Regions from separate parts of the Homo sapiens genome. Here all the other regions are linked to region 5. Evidence: promoter capture Hi-C in human tissues and cell types (Jung and others, 2019). All regions are on one chromosome and are shown on one strand. The core of a region is centred on a gene start or on the middle of the fragment in contact, and the rest is flanking DNA. Distances in the headings are between cores, read along the strand shown. Region 1 holds the start of TSGA10IP (testis specific 10 interacting protein). Region 2 holds the start of CATSPER1 (cation channel sperm associated 1). Region 3 holds the start of C11orf68 (chromosome 11 open reading frame 68). Region 4 holds the start of SART1 (spliceosome associated factor 1, recruiter of U4/U6.U5 tri-snRNP). Region 5 holds the start of AP5B1 (adaptor related protein complex 5 subunit beta 1).

What was found. Contacts are between HindIII fragments. The study calls those that stand out against the background at their distance.
Region 1: a fragment that was not itself captured here is called in contact with the fragment with the promoter of AP5B1 in region 5 in 1 of the 25 tissues and cell types used here (liver).
Region 2: a contact is called between the fragment with the promoter of CATSPER1 here and the fragment with the promoter of AP5B1 in region 5, in 1 of the 25 tissues and cell types used here (stomach).
Region 3: a contact is called between the fragment with the promoter of C11orf68 here and the fragment with the promoter of AP5B1 in region 5, in 1 of the 25 tissues and cell types used here (spleen).
Region 4: the fragment with the promoter of SART1 here is called in contact with the fragment with the promoter of AP5B1 in region 5 in 5 of the 25 tissues and cell types used here (H1 embryonic stem cells, adrenal gland, lymphoblastoid cells and 2 more).

The regions. Positions count from the first base shown.
Region 1 is chr11:65,943,516-65,946,280 of GRCh38, reverse strand. It overlaps TSGA10IP (testis specific 10 interacting protein), which reads right to left and starts at 801. Exons shown (of 8, transcript NM_152762.3): 1 at 459-801. The coding sequence starts at 605. LOC105369350 (a long non-coding RNA gene) reads left to right here and starts at 757. Exons shown (of 3, transcript XR_950212.3): 1 at 757-844. The HindIII fragment of the contact is 7,163 bases long and covers 1-2,765 here.
Region 2 is chr11:66,025,229-66,028,242 of GRCh38, reverse strand. CATSPER1 (cation channel sperm associated 1) reads left to right here and starts at 1,764. Exons shown (of 12, transcript NM_053054.4): 1 at 1,764-3,014. The coding sequence starts at 1,864. The HindIII fragment of the contact is 11,043 bases long and covers 1-3,014 here.
Region 3 is chr11:65,917,597-65,920,387 of GRCh38, reverse strand. It overlaps C11orf68 (chromosome 11 open reading frame 68), which reads left to right and starts at 1,326. Exons shown (of 2, transcript NM_001135635.2): 1 at 1,326-1,478; 2 at 2,170-2,791. The coding sequence starts at 1,357. It overlaps DRAP1 (DR1 associated protein 1), which reads right to left and starts at 962. Exons shown (of 7, transcript NM_006442.4): 1 at 845-962; 2 at 536-608; 3 at 347-440; 4 at 1-45. The coding sequence starts at 886. RefSeq lists enhancers at 369-1,289, 1,290-2,209 and a silencer at 503-1,572. The HindIII fragment of the contact is 24,812 bases long and covers 1-2,791 here.
Region 4 is chr11:65,960,240-65,963,220 of GRCh38, reverse strand. It overlaps SART1 (spliceosome associated factor 1, recruiter of U4/U6.U5 tri-snRNP), which reads right to left and starts at 1,487. Exons shown (of 20, transcript NM_005146.5): 1 at 1,128-1,487. The coding sequence starts at 1,440. RefSeq lists an enhancer at 842-1,629. The HindIII fragment of the contact is 22,503 bases long and covers 1-2,981 here.
Region 5 is chr11:65,779,496-65,782,400 of GRCh38, reverse strand. AP5B1 (adaptor related protein complex 5 subunit beta 1) reads left to right here and starts at 1,425. Exons shown (of 2, transcript NM_138368.5): 1 at 1,425-1,959; 2 at 2,059-2,905. The coding sequence starts at 1,810. RefSeq lists enhancers at 54-711, 1,441-2,343 and silencers at 972-1,711, 1,752-1,931, 2,082-2,351. The HindIII fragment of the contact is 21,769 bases long and covers 1-2,905 here.

The DNA.
Region 1 (2,765 bases), core at 41-2,540, 160 kb before region 5:
CATCATGTGGAGGAGAAAGCTGAGGCTCAGAGAGGCTGAGTAACTGAGGTCACACAGCTGGGAAGTGGTGGAGCCCAGATTTGTCACCATTGCGCTAGGCCACCTCTGGGCCCTGGACTGCACTCCCAAATGTCCCACTGGGCCCTGGACCTGCTACAGCCAAGGCAGAAACCAAGGTGGTCTTCATCAAGGTGGTCTTCATCTTTCCTGAAACCTGCTCCTTCCGCAGTGTTCCCTGAATGGCCCCATCATCCCTGGGAGTCACTCCTGGGCGTCATCCCTCGGCTTCTCCCAAGGCCCTTAGGCCTCCCTGTGGTCCCTGTCCCACTCCTGCCTCCCTGAGTTTCATCTGGACCTCAGCTCAGGTCTTGTGGCTTCTCAAGGGCCTCCCCAGCCCAGGCCTCCCTGACCCACCTGGCTCTAGGCAGCTGGAAGTGTCCTCACTGGGCCTCCCTCACCTGCTTGTCCTGAGAGACGGTCGACAGCAGCTTGAGCAGCCCCGTTCTGGTTCCTGGAGCCTGGAGCCGCACGTCCTGCCCTGGTCGCACCGACGGGGTCCTAACCAACTGTTGGTAGGTATTTAGCATATCGGTGTCCTGCCCCATCCTGCCCCATCCCCCATCCGCACCGTAGAACTGCCTAACAGGCCATCTCTATGGCAACCAGTCCTCAGCCAGTCTCAATGGGTCTGGCAAAAAGCATGCTAGGAAGGGGTCAGTGGGGTATGTGAGGCCAATCTCCTTCTGGGAGAGAGTTCAGCAGGATGCCCAGGAGTCATTTAGCGCAGAGACCCAGGCCCAAGTCCTGCCTCTGCCTCATCCACAGGCTCCCCGTGTGACCTGGTGTAAGTCCCCTGTCCCTACTCTGCCTGTGTTTCCCCATCCATCTGTACAGGGGAGTCAGCCTGTCTCCTGTGCTGCCCCCCGGCCTGGCCGAGTCCCTGAAGGAGCCAAACTGAACTTTCACAAGATTTTATTTAAATCCTTGCACTCCCAGGCTGGGAGTGGTGGCTCACACCTGTAATCCCAGCACTTTGGGGGGCTGAGGCAGGTGGATCACTGGAGGTCAAGAGTTCAAGACCAGCCTGGCCAAAATGGCAAAACCCCATCTCTACCAAAAATGCAAAAAAGATTAGCCAGGCCTGGTGGCGCATGCCTGTAATCCCAGCTACTCAGGCTGAGGCACGAGAATCACTTGAACCCGGGAGGCAGAGGCTGCATCGACCCCAGATTGCACCACTGCACTCCAGCCAGGGCGACAGAGTGAGACTCTGTCTCAATAAAAAAGAAACAAATAAACAAATCTTTGCACTCCCAGCCCCAGCCAGGAAGTTGAATGCTGTGTCCAGGAGAGAGGCAGCAGGCCATTCAGAGCCTGGGCCCAGGCCCACCTGGCCATCTTCATAGGCCATGAGGTTCTGGAGGGAGTTACAACATTGAAAGCTTACCCCAGGCCGGGCAGTGGCTGTAATTCCAGCACTTTGGGAGGCCGAGGTGGGCGGATTGCCTGAGGTCAGGAGTTGGAGACCAGCCTGGCCAACATGGTGAAACCCCATCTCCCACCTGGATTGAAACTCTATCTCTACTAAAAATACAAAAATTAGCCGGGCATGGTGGTGGGCACCTGTAATCCCAGCTACTCGGGAGGCTGAGGCTCTCCCTCTCCGGGTTCTCTTGAACCCGGGAGGTGGAGGTTGCAGTGAGCCGAGGCCACACCAGTGTACTCCAGCCTGGGCGAAAGAGTGAGACTCCATCTCAAAAAAATATATTTTTTTAATATAAAAAAAGTAAAAGATCTTACCCCAAACTTCTAGCAGTGCTCAAAAGCCTTGGAATCTTAAGTCCCCATGGGACGCCTGGTGCTGACCACTGAGGCTTGCAGTACAGGGATGTGGTGCTGAGCTGAGGCCCTGGAGACGGACCAACTGGGCTGGAGGCCTGGTCTCACTAGCTCTGTGACCAACTCCCCACTCTGCAAAACTGGAATCACGGGCCCAGCTCATAGGTTTGTTGCAAGGACTACATGAAACCCCAAACGATGACATCGGTAAATGTTATTATTACTAACACTAGCTGGCCGTTCTTTTGAGGCAGCAGAGCATCATGGCTAAGAGCATAGAGGAAGCGCTTGGGTGCAAATCCCAGCTCCTCCACTTGTCCCGTACCCTCTCGGTGCCTGTTTTCTCATAGGCAATGGGGAGGGGATGGTTATAATCGGATCTACTCCCAGGGTAGTGGTAAGGATTAAATCACTATGCAGATACAAACAGAACATCCTCATGGCTCATGGGAACTGCTATGTTAGCATTGCTGTTATTCTTATTATCTTTTTTTTTTCTTTTTGTGATGGAGTCTTGCTCTGTTGCCCAGGCTGGAGTGCAGTGATGTGATCTCGGCTCACTGCAACCTCTGCCTCCTGGGTTCAAGCGATTCTCCCACCTCAGCCTCCCGGGTAACTAGGATTACAGGCATGTGCCACCATGCCCGGCTAATTTTTTGTATTTTTAGTAGAGAGAGGGTTTCACCATGTTGGCCAGGCTGGTCTTGAACTCCTGACCTCAAGTGATCCACCCACCTTGGCCTCCCAAAGTGCTGGGATTACAGGTGTGAGCCACTGCACCGGGCCGTGTTGCTGTTATTAATTAATCAATGATGTGGCCCCAGGGAAGCAGACTATCCTGGAAGATGCCATAGAGGCAGGATTTTTCTCAGACTGTGGCCCTGTGGCTCCTCTTCTGCTCTCAGACTCCATCCCAGTGGCACCTC
Region 2 (3,014 bases), core at 515-3,014, 250 kb before region 5:
CTATTGTGAGGATTAAATTTAATGTGTATGGGCCGGGCACGGTGGCGCATGCCTGTAATCCCAGCACTTTGGGTTGTCGAGGCGGGCAGATCGTTTGAGATCAGGAGTTCGAGACCAGCCTGACCAACAGGGTGAAACCCCATCTCTACTAAAATACAAAAGAAGTTAGCTGGGCGTAGTGGTGCACGCCTGTACTTTCAGCTACTTGGGAGACTGAGGCAGGAGAATTGCTTGAATTCAGGAGGTGGAGGTTGCTGTGAGCTGAGACCATGCCACTGCACTCCACCCTAGGTGACAGAGCAAGACTGTGTCTCAAAAAAAAAAAAAGAAAGAAAGAAAACAAAATGTGTATGAAGCAATCCTCAATAAATGATGGCTGATAGTTTAATTTTGGTAATAACCCTAAAGGGGGGTTCCAAGATCAAGAAGAGAATAATAATGCCAATTAACATGTATTGGCCAGGCATGGTGGCTCACACCTGAAATCCCAGCACTTAGGGAGTGCGAGGTGGGTGGATCATTTGAGGTCAGGAGTTCAAGAGCAGCCTCGTCAACATGGTGAAACCCCGTCTCTACTAAAAATACAAAAATTAGCTGGGTGTGGTGTGCACCTGTAGTCGCAGCTACTAGGAAAGCTGAGGCAGGAGAATTGCCTGAACCCAGGAGGCAGAGATTGCAGTGAGCCAAGATTGCACCCCGGCACTCCAGCCTAGTGACAGAGTAAGACTCTGTCTCAAAAAAAAAAAAAAAAAAATTAGCCGGGGTGGGGTATGGTGGTGGGTGGCTGTAATCCCAGCTACTCAGGGGGCTAAGGCAGGAGGCTCACTTGAACCTGGGAGGCAGAGATTGCCATGAGTGGAGATCATGCCGCTGCACTCCAGCCTGGGTGACAGTGAGACTGTCTCAAAAAACAAAAACAAAAACAAAAAAACATGGGCTGGGCGCAGTGGCTCACACCTGTAATCCCAACACTTTGGAAGGGCAAGGCAGGCGGATCACGAGGTCAGGAGATCAAGACCATTCTGGCTAACATGGTGAAACCCCGTCTCTACTAAAAATAGAAAAAGTTAGCCGGGCGTGGTGGTGGGCGCCTGTAGTCCCAGCTACTTGGGAGGCTGAGGCAGGAAAATGGCATGAAGCTGGGAGGTGGAGGTTGCAGTGAGTCAAGATCGTGCCACTGCACTCCAGCCTGGGCGACAGAGCGAGACTCCATCTCAAAAACAAACAAAGAAACAAACAACAACAACAACAACAAAAACCATGTATTATGCTGTTAATATAAGGCTTACATATCTTAACTTTTTTGATCCTGTGGGCTAGGTATTATTATTCCCATTTTACAGAGGAAGAAACTGAGGCACGGGAAAGTTCAGCAACAAGCCCAAGGTCACACACCTACTTATGAGGGAGTCAGGCAGTCTTCACCCCAGAGCCAGCTGATCTCTAGATGGGACTGAAGACTGGACCACTTGGACCATTTTCTTTCCAACAACAGGGCTAAAGTAGCTGATGAAGCCATGGCGCCCCCATGGACTTCTTTGTCCAGCTTTGCCAGTGACCTGTGAGGTCACCTTGGTCTAGTCCTTCCCTTTTCTTGACCTCGGTTTCCTCATTTACAATGAAGGAGTTTGACACAATAATTCTTGATTCCGAACTATAGCCCAGGAAGAGGCATTTGGGAATGAGGCCCTGGCCTGCTGGTGACATCATAGAGGGGAGAGTTCCACGAGAATAGTCAGGCCTTTCTGGAAGCCCAGTGCCACAGTCTGCATTGAGCTTGGCTCAGGAAAGAAGGGAAATCCAGGCGGGGCCTGTTGGGCCCAGGTCTTGAGCTCTTTTGGCTCCAGAGTTCCCAGCACAGTCATGGATCAAAACTCAGTGCCTGAAAAGGCTCAGAATGAGGCAGACACCAATAACGCAGATAGGTTCTTTCGCTCTCACTCATCACCCCCACACCACAGGCCAGGCCACAGCAGAGCTCTCCACCATTACGAGTTGCACCATCACGGCGTGCCCCACCAACGTGGTGAATCTCACCACCCTCCGGAGTTCCAAGACTTCCACGACCAAGCCTTGTCCTCCCATGTCCACCAATCTCACCACCACAGCGAGGCACGGAATCACGGCAGAGCCCATGGCCCCACAGGCTTTGGTCTGGCTCCCTCTCAAGGCGCCGTCCCCTCCCACCGTTCCTACGGTGAGGACTACCATGATGAGCTCCAACGTGATGGCAGGAGGCATCATGATGGGTCCCAATACGGTGGGTTCCATCAGCAGAGTGACTCCCATTACCATAGGGGGTCTCACCATGGCAGACCCCAATATCTCGGTGAGAATTTATCCCACTATTCCTCTGGCGTGCCCCACCACGGTGAGGCTTCCCACCATGGTGGGTCCTACCTCCCCCATGGACCCAATCCCTACAGTGAGTCCTTCCACCACAGCGAGGCTTCCCACCTTAGCGGGCTCCAACACGATGAGTCCCAGCATCACCAAGTCCCCCACCGTGGCTGGCCCCACCATCACCAAGTCCACCACCATGGCAGGTCCCGTCATCATGAAGCCCACCAGCATGGAAAGTCTCCTCATCACGGAGAGACCATTTCCCCTCATTCCTCTGTGGGGTCCTACCAGCGTGGGATATCTGACTATCACAGCGAGTACCACCAAGGTGATCACCACCCCAGTGAGTACCACCATGGCGACCATCCCCACCACACACAGCACCACTACCACCAGACCCACCGGCACCGAGACTACCATCAGCACCAAGACCACCACGGCGCGTATCATTCCAGTTACCTCCATGGCGACTACGTCCAGAGCACTTCCCAACTCTCTATCCCACACACATCCCGGAGCCTGATTCACGATGCCCCCGGCCCTGCTGCTTCTCGTACAGGAGTCTTCCCCTATCACGTAGCACACCCACGGGGCTCGGCTCACAGCATGACTCGGTCCTCCAGCACAATCCGCTCACGTGTCACCCAGATGTCCAAAAAAGTCCATACCCA
Region 3 (2,791 bases), core at 77-2,576, 140 kb before region 5:
TCCTTCAAGAAGTCAAACTGCTGCTCCAGCTCGATGCACTGCTTCCTGGAAGAGGTGAGGAGGGGCTGGCACTCAAGAGGGGCCCAGACACCCAAACCCGCAGTGGGTGGCAGCAAGGGGCCCCAGATGTCAGGCTGGAGCCCGGGCCGATCTCCGCTCCCGGGCCTGCCCTGCTTTACTCAGGTGGCTCCCTCTGCCTGGAAGCCCAGCCTCTCCTCTGCCAGTCTGTGGCCTTGCTGGTGTCCCGGCTGCCGCCCACCTCCCTCGCCACCCAGGCTCTGCCTTCCTCAGTGTGTGAACTCCCCGCGCCAAACCCGCCGGCCCCTCCCGGCTCCTCGCCGCTCACAGGTGGGATGTGGTCATGGTCTTCGCGTTCCGCGACTGGGTCACCTGGCAGGCCTTCTTCAACAGCGACTCTAGGAAGAGCTCGAGCGCCCGGGCTGAGGAGCGTCAAGGAGAACTCCGGGGCAGGAGAGGGCGACCCGCTGCCTCCCTCCCCCACGCCCCTCGACCCGGTCCGCCCCCGGCAGGATACAGATGATGACAGGCACCGCCGCCGCCACCTTCCCAATCTCTTCGTCCGTCTGCATGATCTTCTTGATCCGCGCCTGCGGGTGGGGGAGCAGAGTTCAGACCCCGTCGCCACCGTCCCCTAAGGGGGTGCTGGGGGAGGAAGGGGCATCCCCGGAGAAAGGGGGCGGGGGACACGGACGCGGGGAGGGCATGGAGGGGGCGGGGCGTCCAGGCCCCCGAACACCGCGGCGCGCCCGCCTGCCCAGCGGGAACTGGGCCCAAGCCACCCGGGAGCCGGGCCCACTCCTGCCGGGCTCTGCCACGTGCTCACCGGCGGGAACCGCGCGTTGTACTTCTTCTTCTTGCTCGGCATCTCGGGGCCTCTCTCGCCGCGTCGGGTCCAGCGCCGCCGCCCGCAGCCTCCCGGCTCCCGGGCCTGCTCGCCGCCCGCCCGTCGCGGTTCCCCTGGGTCCTGGTGCCGCCCGCTCCGCCCCCGCCGTTTCCCGCGGAGTCCTAGCGCCGCCGGTTAAGACGCCGCTCGCAGGGCCCTAGTGCCCTCCTCTTGAAGCCTCCTGGCCGGTGCGCGTCCCTCCCCAGTCTGGACCGCCGCTCCCGCCCGCCCCCAAGGCCAGAAGAGCGAACGTTGGCCCCGCCCCCCGCGGCCCGCCCCTCCCGGGGTTCCCGCGATGGCCCCGCCCCCGAGTCAGCACCTCCCCGTCGGCCCCGCCCCTTCCCCTGCCGGCCCCGCCCCACAGCGCGGCCGCTGCGGCCGCTGAGGCCCGCGGCTCCGCCCTGTGGCTGCGCCTGTCTATAAAGTTGTTGTTGAGGTGGCGCGGCGCTAAGATGGCGGCGGCGGCGGCGGCGGCCGTGGCGGGGGTGGGGCGCGGTGGCGGTGGCGCGGAGCCACGGCAGGAGCGGAGCCGGGCCCGGGGCTGGGCCGGCGTCGAACGCAGCGAAGGCCGGAGGTGACTGCGGGCGGCGGGAGGGGCAGGGCAGGGCCGGGGCGGGAGCACAGCTCGGGCCCGTGGGCGTTAATGGCGGCGGGCGCGGCACGGCCGGAGCCTGGCTCTCCTGCAGGCTCTAACAAGCCCTGGTTCGAGTCTGGGAACCGCCCCATTGGCCTCGGAACGGCCTGTAACCTCTCTGGACTTCAGCGTCCTCGTCTGTAAGTGGGCCCGATAACGCCTGCCTGGGAGGCCTGGCCTTACAGAGCCGGCCTCGGGAGCTGCGCGAACGTGCGCTTCTTTGCGTTCCTCTATTAAATGCCAGCGCACCGGATACCTGCCAGGAAAAGGGGGCCTTGGCAGGGCCGGGAGGTGTAGCTGGGGCTGGTTGCTCCCACGCCTGGATTCACCCTTCGGCCCTGCCACGCACTGCAGGTGTGACCTTGGGCAAGTCCTTTTTCTCAGCCTCAGTTTCCTTTTCTGTAAGTCAAGGAGAATAGTAATAACTGCAGCAACCCTTCTGGAGCGCTGACTCCTCAGGCATCTAATTTTCATAGCAGATCTACGGGACAGGAACAGTTGTTATCCCATTGTAAAGATGAGGCAACTGAGGCGCATCGACAGTAACTCTTACTCAAGGCCACAGTTTAATCCAGTGCCTGGCATCTGTAGTTATTGTCTCAGACCCTGCCCTGACTCGGTTCCCTCACAGCAGGATGGAACCAGGTGAGGAGCTGGAAGAGGAGGGCTCTCCAGGTGGCCGTGAGGATGGCTTCACCGCCGAGCACCTGGCTGCAGAGGCCATGGCAGCTGACATGGACCCCTGGCTAGTGTTTGATGCCCGCACAACGCCTGCCACTGAGCTGGATGCCTGGCTGGCCAAGTACCCACCATCCCAAGTTACCCGCTATGGGGACCCCGGTTCACCCAACTCAGAGCCTGTGGGCTGGATTGCAGTGTATGGGCAGGGCTACAGCCCCAACTCCGGGGACGTGCAGGGCCTGCAGGCAGCCTGGGAAGCTCTGCAGACCAGTGGGCGGCCCATCACACCGGGTACCCTGCGCCAGCTCGCCATCACCCACCACGTGCTCTCGGGCAAGTGGCTTATGCATCTGGCACCGGGCTTCAAGCTGGACCACGCCTGGGCTGGCATTGCCCGGGCCGTGGTTGAAGGCCAGCTTCAGGTGGCCAAGGTGAGCCCACGTGCCAAGGAGGGTGGGCGCCAGGTCATCTGTGTTTACACGGACGACTTCACGGACCGCTTGGGTGTACTGGAGGCGGATTCAGCCATCCGTGCAGCGGGCATTAAGTGCCTGCTCACCTACAAGCCTGAT
Region 4 (2,981 bases), core at 238-2,737, 180 kb before region 5:
CCTTTTTGGTTACTCTGTCTCCTTTTTTTGGTAACATCTTTCTCTGCCTACTACTAACATAAGGGCATTTCTCAGGTTCTAGTCCTGACCCCCTCTTCTCATGTCACAGTCTTTCAGGGGCTTCACTGGCCACCCAGATACTGACTCCCAATGGCTTTATCCAGTCCAAACTCTGGATTTCCCCATTACCATCAACCTTGACAACCCCAAAAGTGAACTATCTCCCCCCACCCCCGCTCCAAATCTGCTTCTCTTCCCTACTCCTCAATTTCAGTAGAAATGACACCCACTACCTATCTGGCTGCTCAAGCCAAAATTCAAGGAGTCATCCTCCATTCCTTCTTCCCACCCTCATACAAGTGCTGAGTTCTGTTCATTCCTCCTCCAAAACACCTCTCCAACCTGTCCACTTCTCTCAATCCCACTGCTGCTGCCTTGGTGCAGGCCACCATCAGCCCTCCCCTGGCCTATAGCCCTCCTGGTTTCCTGGTCTCCAGTCCTGACTACCTTTGACTAAATTCTCAATCCAGTGATGTTTACAAAATACGGATCTGAGCAACTCACTCCTCAACTCACATCCATGGCTCCCTACTATCCTCAAGACAATCTACAGTTCTTAACAGAGACTACAGTACAGGGTCCTTTGTGTTCACATCCCTGTCTATCTTACTCCCTCATTTCTCTACCATGCGCCCTACACGATTCGTCCAATACCAGGTTTTTCTTGCCTCTGTATATGCTGACACTACTTCATTCACTCATTCAACATATTTATTGAGAATCTGATTGTACCAGACAACTGAGGAAAACAGAAGCCCTCTGTCCTCAAGCAGCTGAGTGGAGAAAGTCAACCTCTAATCCTAAACAACCGTAGAAAGACTTTTTTCTTTTTGAGACAGAGTCTCGCTTTGTTGCCCAGGCTGGAGTACACTGGCGGGACCGCAGCTCACTGCAGCCTCTAACTCCTGGGCTCAAGGGATCCCGTAGAAAGACTATTTAATAGAGCTGGTAAACAGCTTGGGGGTTTCCTGGCCTGAAGAGCTTCGCTGACACTGCGCGCACACCCAGACCCACGCGTTCCGGGACCCCCGCCCGACCCGCCCCCTGCGCAGGCCCCGCCTCCTCACCGGCCTCGTAGCCGTCATCGCGCTTCTCCCGCTTCACGCGCCGCTCGGAGGGCTCTGCCTGGCTGCGCTCCCGCCCGTGCGTGCTGCTCCGGGCCTCAGCTTCGGCCCCGCGCCGCCCGCTCCCGCGCTCGCCCCCACGTTCCCGGCTCCGCTTCCGTCGTTCGCCACCGCTACCGCCACTGCCGCCACTCCGGTGCTTGTGTTTTTTGTGTTCCCGGTGCCGCGGCGGCTGCTCGGTGGCACCCCCGGTGCCGGCCGCCGCCGTCGTCCCGGCCGCCTCCTTCTCTCCGCGATGCTTCTTGGACGACCCCATAGTGGCACGTCCACTCCGAGCCCGGCTGCCGCCGAGCCCAGACAACGCAAAATGGGAATACTTCCGGGTCGCTCGGCAGCCGCTGTCGTGTTGCCGGAAACTAAGAGCGGCTGCTTCCGTCGCTCGCCTTGGAGCCTGCCCCAGAGGCTCATGGGAAGGCCGGGATCAGCGCTCGACTGCACATTCGCGCCGTCTCGGGTCGGGTGGGTTCTTTGAGCGAGTGGTCCCATTGCGCATGCGCTCCTCAAGGGAAGCGGAATTAACCCGGAGGTGGGATCCCAGAACTGGAAGGACTTAGAGCCCATTAAGTCAGTGTCTTCGTGGCTTTAAGTTCCTCCCCGGCCTCCCTGCGCTTGCACTTCACCGGCAACGGGGTGTTCACTACCTCACGGTCTTTCCGTAGACACCTCCCTCCTACAATGGGCGCTCGCTTAGTGGACTCCTAGGGTCGTGGCTCCAACGGGTGTTGTTTTCCCGAGATCTCCAATTCCACAGCCCAGCTTCAGACCCGCTATAACCAGTATCGTCAGGGAACGCTTCCTTCCCACGTTCCCTGTTTTGTTTTGTTTTGTTTTTTCCCTTGAGATAGGATCTCACTCTGTTGCTCAGGCTGGAGTGCAGTGGCGTGATCACAGCGCACTGCAGCCTCGACCTCCTGGGCTCAAGTGATCCTCCCACCTCAGCCTTCCCAGTAGCTGGGACTACGAGAGTACGCTACCACGCCCCTTTAATTTTTGTATTTTTTTGTAGATGGTTGGTGGGGAGCGGGGGTAGGGGGTGGGGTCACTATGTTGGCCAGGCTGGTCTCGAACTCCTGAGCTCAGGCTATACACCCGCCTTGGCCTCCCAAAGTGCTGAGATTACAGGCATGCGCCACTGCGCCTGGCCCTGGATTGGATTTTTAAAACCTGGCCCCGTGAACTGTTAAGATTGTTTAGGAGCTCCACATGGGCGTCAGTGTATCCCTGGAACCCCTGAAATTGAATGCAAAATGTGGCACATCTGTGTGTATGAGTTTTTTTCTTGAGGAGACCAGCCCTAACTTAAAACTATTGGGACTTAAAACCCCAGTGCAGGCCGGGCGCGGTGGCTCACGCCTGTAATCCCAGCACTTTGGGAGGCCAAGGCAGGCGAATCACGAGGTCAAGAGATCGAGACCATCCTGGCCTACATGGTAAAACCCCGTCTCTACTAAAAATACAAAAATTAGCTGGGTGTGGTGGCGCACACCTGTAGTCCCAGCTACTCAGGAGGCTGAGGCAGGAGAATCGCTTGAACCTGGGAGGCAGAGGTTGCAGTGAGTTGAGATCACACCATTGCACTCCGGCCTGGTGACAGAGCGAGACTCTGTCTTAAAAAAAAAAAAAAAAAGCGCAGTGCACACAATCCCAATCTCTCCTGAAACCCCTCCCCTCACCCAGTGGTTGCTCAGTCTGTGGCTCCCTGTGTGGCACAACTCAGCATGTGTTAGGCTATGTTGTATGCGCCCCTTTAAGGATCCACCCCCTCTCCCACTCACTGGGCGTCCTCAGAGGCAGGAG
Region 5 (2,905 bases), core at 176-2,675:
CAGACAGAGAAACCAGACTGGCTCCTACTGCAGGCTGCCTCCCCTCCCCAGGGCTGCTCTCATCCTGCCTCTTTCATCTTGGGTTTAATTAGCCAGGCTGCCTCACCCCACAGCCTCTTGGGTGGGAGTTATCACTCCCATTTTATAGATGGGGAAACTGAGGCACCTAGAGGGAAGTAGTTTGGGGCTGCTGCCTGTGAGTCAACTGTGGAGCCAGGGCCTAGAGGAGCCGGGACCGGGCCTTCTGGCTGGACCTGTCCCTCCGAGTGGGTCTCTATCTCTCCATCCCCAAGGGCACCCAGACAGCCTCCTTTTTGGCACTCTCCACCCCTCAACTCTCCACCACCTCCCATCTGGAGCAGGATGGGGTAGGGAGAGGCCAGCTGGCACTGGCTTGCATGGGGGCTCAGGCCTGTTTCATCTTCAAAGCGGCTAATTGGAGCCAGAGGGGTGGTGAGGTTTGGGCGCCGGCGGTTCTGTGCCCTGGAAACCGGTGGTCTGTGGGGCACCTGCAACCTGGGCCTCTGGCCTGGGAGAGACCGCCGCCCAGACCCCCGAATGCCCCCAAACAGCCAGAATCCAGCCCACTGAAGTCTGGAGTGCTGGGTTCCGGCCCGGCTTGGCCCCAGATCTCGGTTGGCAAGGCCGCCCTCCTCCTGGGCCTGTTTTCCCCATCGCTAGGCATGCCTCGAGCCCCGTGACCGGCCAGGCCCTGACAGCCCGCACTTCCCGAGTATGGATCCCGTTGTTTTCGACTTAGGGCCCTGCCCCGCCCTCGCCGTCACGACCCCTGCGGGCCGCCAGCGCGGCCTCGGGCAAACAAAGGTCAGAAGCTCCTGGCTGGCCGCAACCGCGGCGCCGGCTCCTCGCCCCCAAGCCGAGCGGGCTGGGGGCCCGGGCAGGCGTCAGGGAAGCGAAGCCAAGCCCTGCGGCGCCCGCCGGACCGGTTCAGCTGGGGCGCTTTTCCTGCGGGCGCCCTGCGACCGCACCTTGGTCACCCCCAGGGGCCACTCCGGGAGCCCCAGGACCCGCACCCACGCCCCCCGGGGCCGCGCGTCTGGCGCAGGGTGCGGTGTGCCCGGGCGCCGGCGGGGGGCGCGCTGGCTGCCGCCCTGCGCGGCTTGGCGGGCGCTGGTGGGACCGGGCCGCTGTCCGCCGAGGGCCGCGGGATCGCAGCCCTGCGCCGCGGTACCCGGCATCTGGGGCCCAGGCCCACCCCGCTCCGCCACCCCTACCCACTCCCCTCCGCCTTTCCTGCCCCGGCCTGCGGCGGTTTCGGGGAAGGGGGCCTGCGCGGCGGGACAGTTAGTCAGCCCCCGCGAAACCTGCGAGTCGACACCTGCGGGAGGCGGTGGCCCCGTTACGCCCCGCCCCTCCCCGCCCGGACTCGGCCGCCCCCGCGCCGCGCCCCGCCCCGCGCCGCCAGCCCGGAAGGAGCCGGCCGGCCTGAGTGCCCGCGGCGGCTGAGTCAGGCGGCGAGCGCGGCCCGTTACCGCCGGCGCCGGGGGCCGGGGTGGCGCTGTGGTTTCGGTGCGGGCCGCGGGCGGGAGGGAGGCGGCCTAACGAGCTCTCGGCACGCACCCTCCCCCGCCCTGCTCCTGTCCTGTCCCGCGAGGGCCCCGGCGCCCAGCTCTGGCGTCGGCCCCGAGAGCCCTGGTCTCACCGTGGGAGCCGGGCGCGGGTCCCGCCGGCATCTGCGCGGCGTCTGGGGGTGACCGCAGCCCCTCGGGGTCGGCAGCGGGCCCCGCGCTCCCGGTGGCTGCGGCCTGAGGGTCCCTCTTCCCTGCGCAGGGGCCCGCGCGCCTCACCATGGGGCCCCTGAGCCGGGACGCCTGGGCCCAGCGCTTGGGGGCCTTCCGGGCCAGCCCGTCTGCCTTCATGGCAGGTCCCGAGGGGGAGGATTTGGGTCGCGACCTGCTGAGCGACCTGAGAAGTGAGAAGCTGAGCGAACAGACCAAGGTAGGCCCCCACGCGTCCCCTGCGCCGTTCCGCAGGGTCACCCCAGCCCGCCGCGTCATGAACCTCATCTTCGTGATTCCCTCCTAATCCCCCATCCAGGTTTCCCTGCTGGCCCTGAGCATGGAGTACCCTGCGCAGCTGTGGCCCGACGCCTCTGCGGCCGAAGTGGCCGCCACCTCCCTGTTGGACACCTTGGTCCTCCTACCCCCGCGGCCCTCAGCTCTCCGTCGGCCACTGCTGCTGGCGGCCACCACTGCCCTGGCGGCGGGCGGCGCGCTGGGCCCCACCTCGGGCGCCTCCTGCCGGCTCCTGCCCCTACTGCTCGGCCTGGCCGCGGGTAGCGATCTGGGGCGAGGCTTTGTCCCCGCCTCGGAACAGCGCCCCTTGCAGGCCACGGCCTGCGAGTGCCTGCGAGAGCTAGAGAGCTGCAAGCCCGGGCTGCTGGGGGGCTCCCTGGGGTTGCTGCGGGGCCTGCTGGGGCAGGAAGGCCCTGTCCAGCCACTCAGCCTGTTGCTGGCCCTCGCTTTGCGCAACACCTTGGTGCTCCAGTCCCGGGTTGGGGCTGGCCTGGGGGGACTGCTCACGGATAAGGTCTCCCCAACTGGGGGTGGTCCCTGGGATTGGACACTAGTGGAGGAGGGCGATGGACGCCTTCAGCCCCAGGCACCCAGCTGGCCGGCAGCTGAGGAGGGAGAGGGGGAGCGTAGCCTTACAGCACGAGAGCACAGCCCTGAGGAGGCGCGGGAGCTGCGGGCTGCGGTGATCCAGCTTCTGGACACCTCCTATCTGCTCACTCCTGTGGCCCAGGCCCAGCTCCTGTGGCTGCTGGGCTGGGCCCTGCGGGGTCTGCAGGGACAGCCACCGGCACTCTTCAAGCCGCAGCTGGTACGGCTGCTAGGCACAGCACAGCTGACACTGTTGCACGCCATGCTTGCGCTCAAGGCGG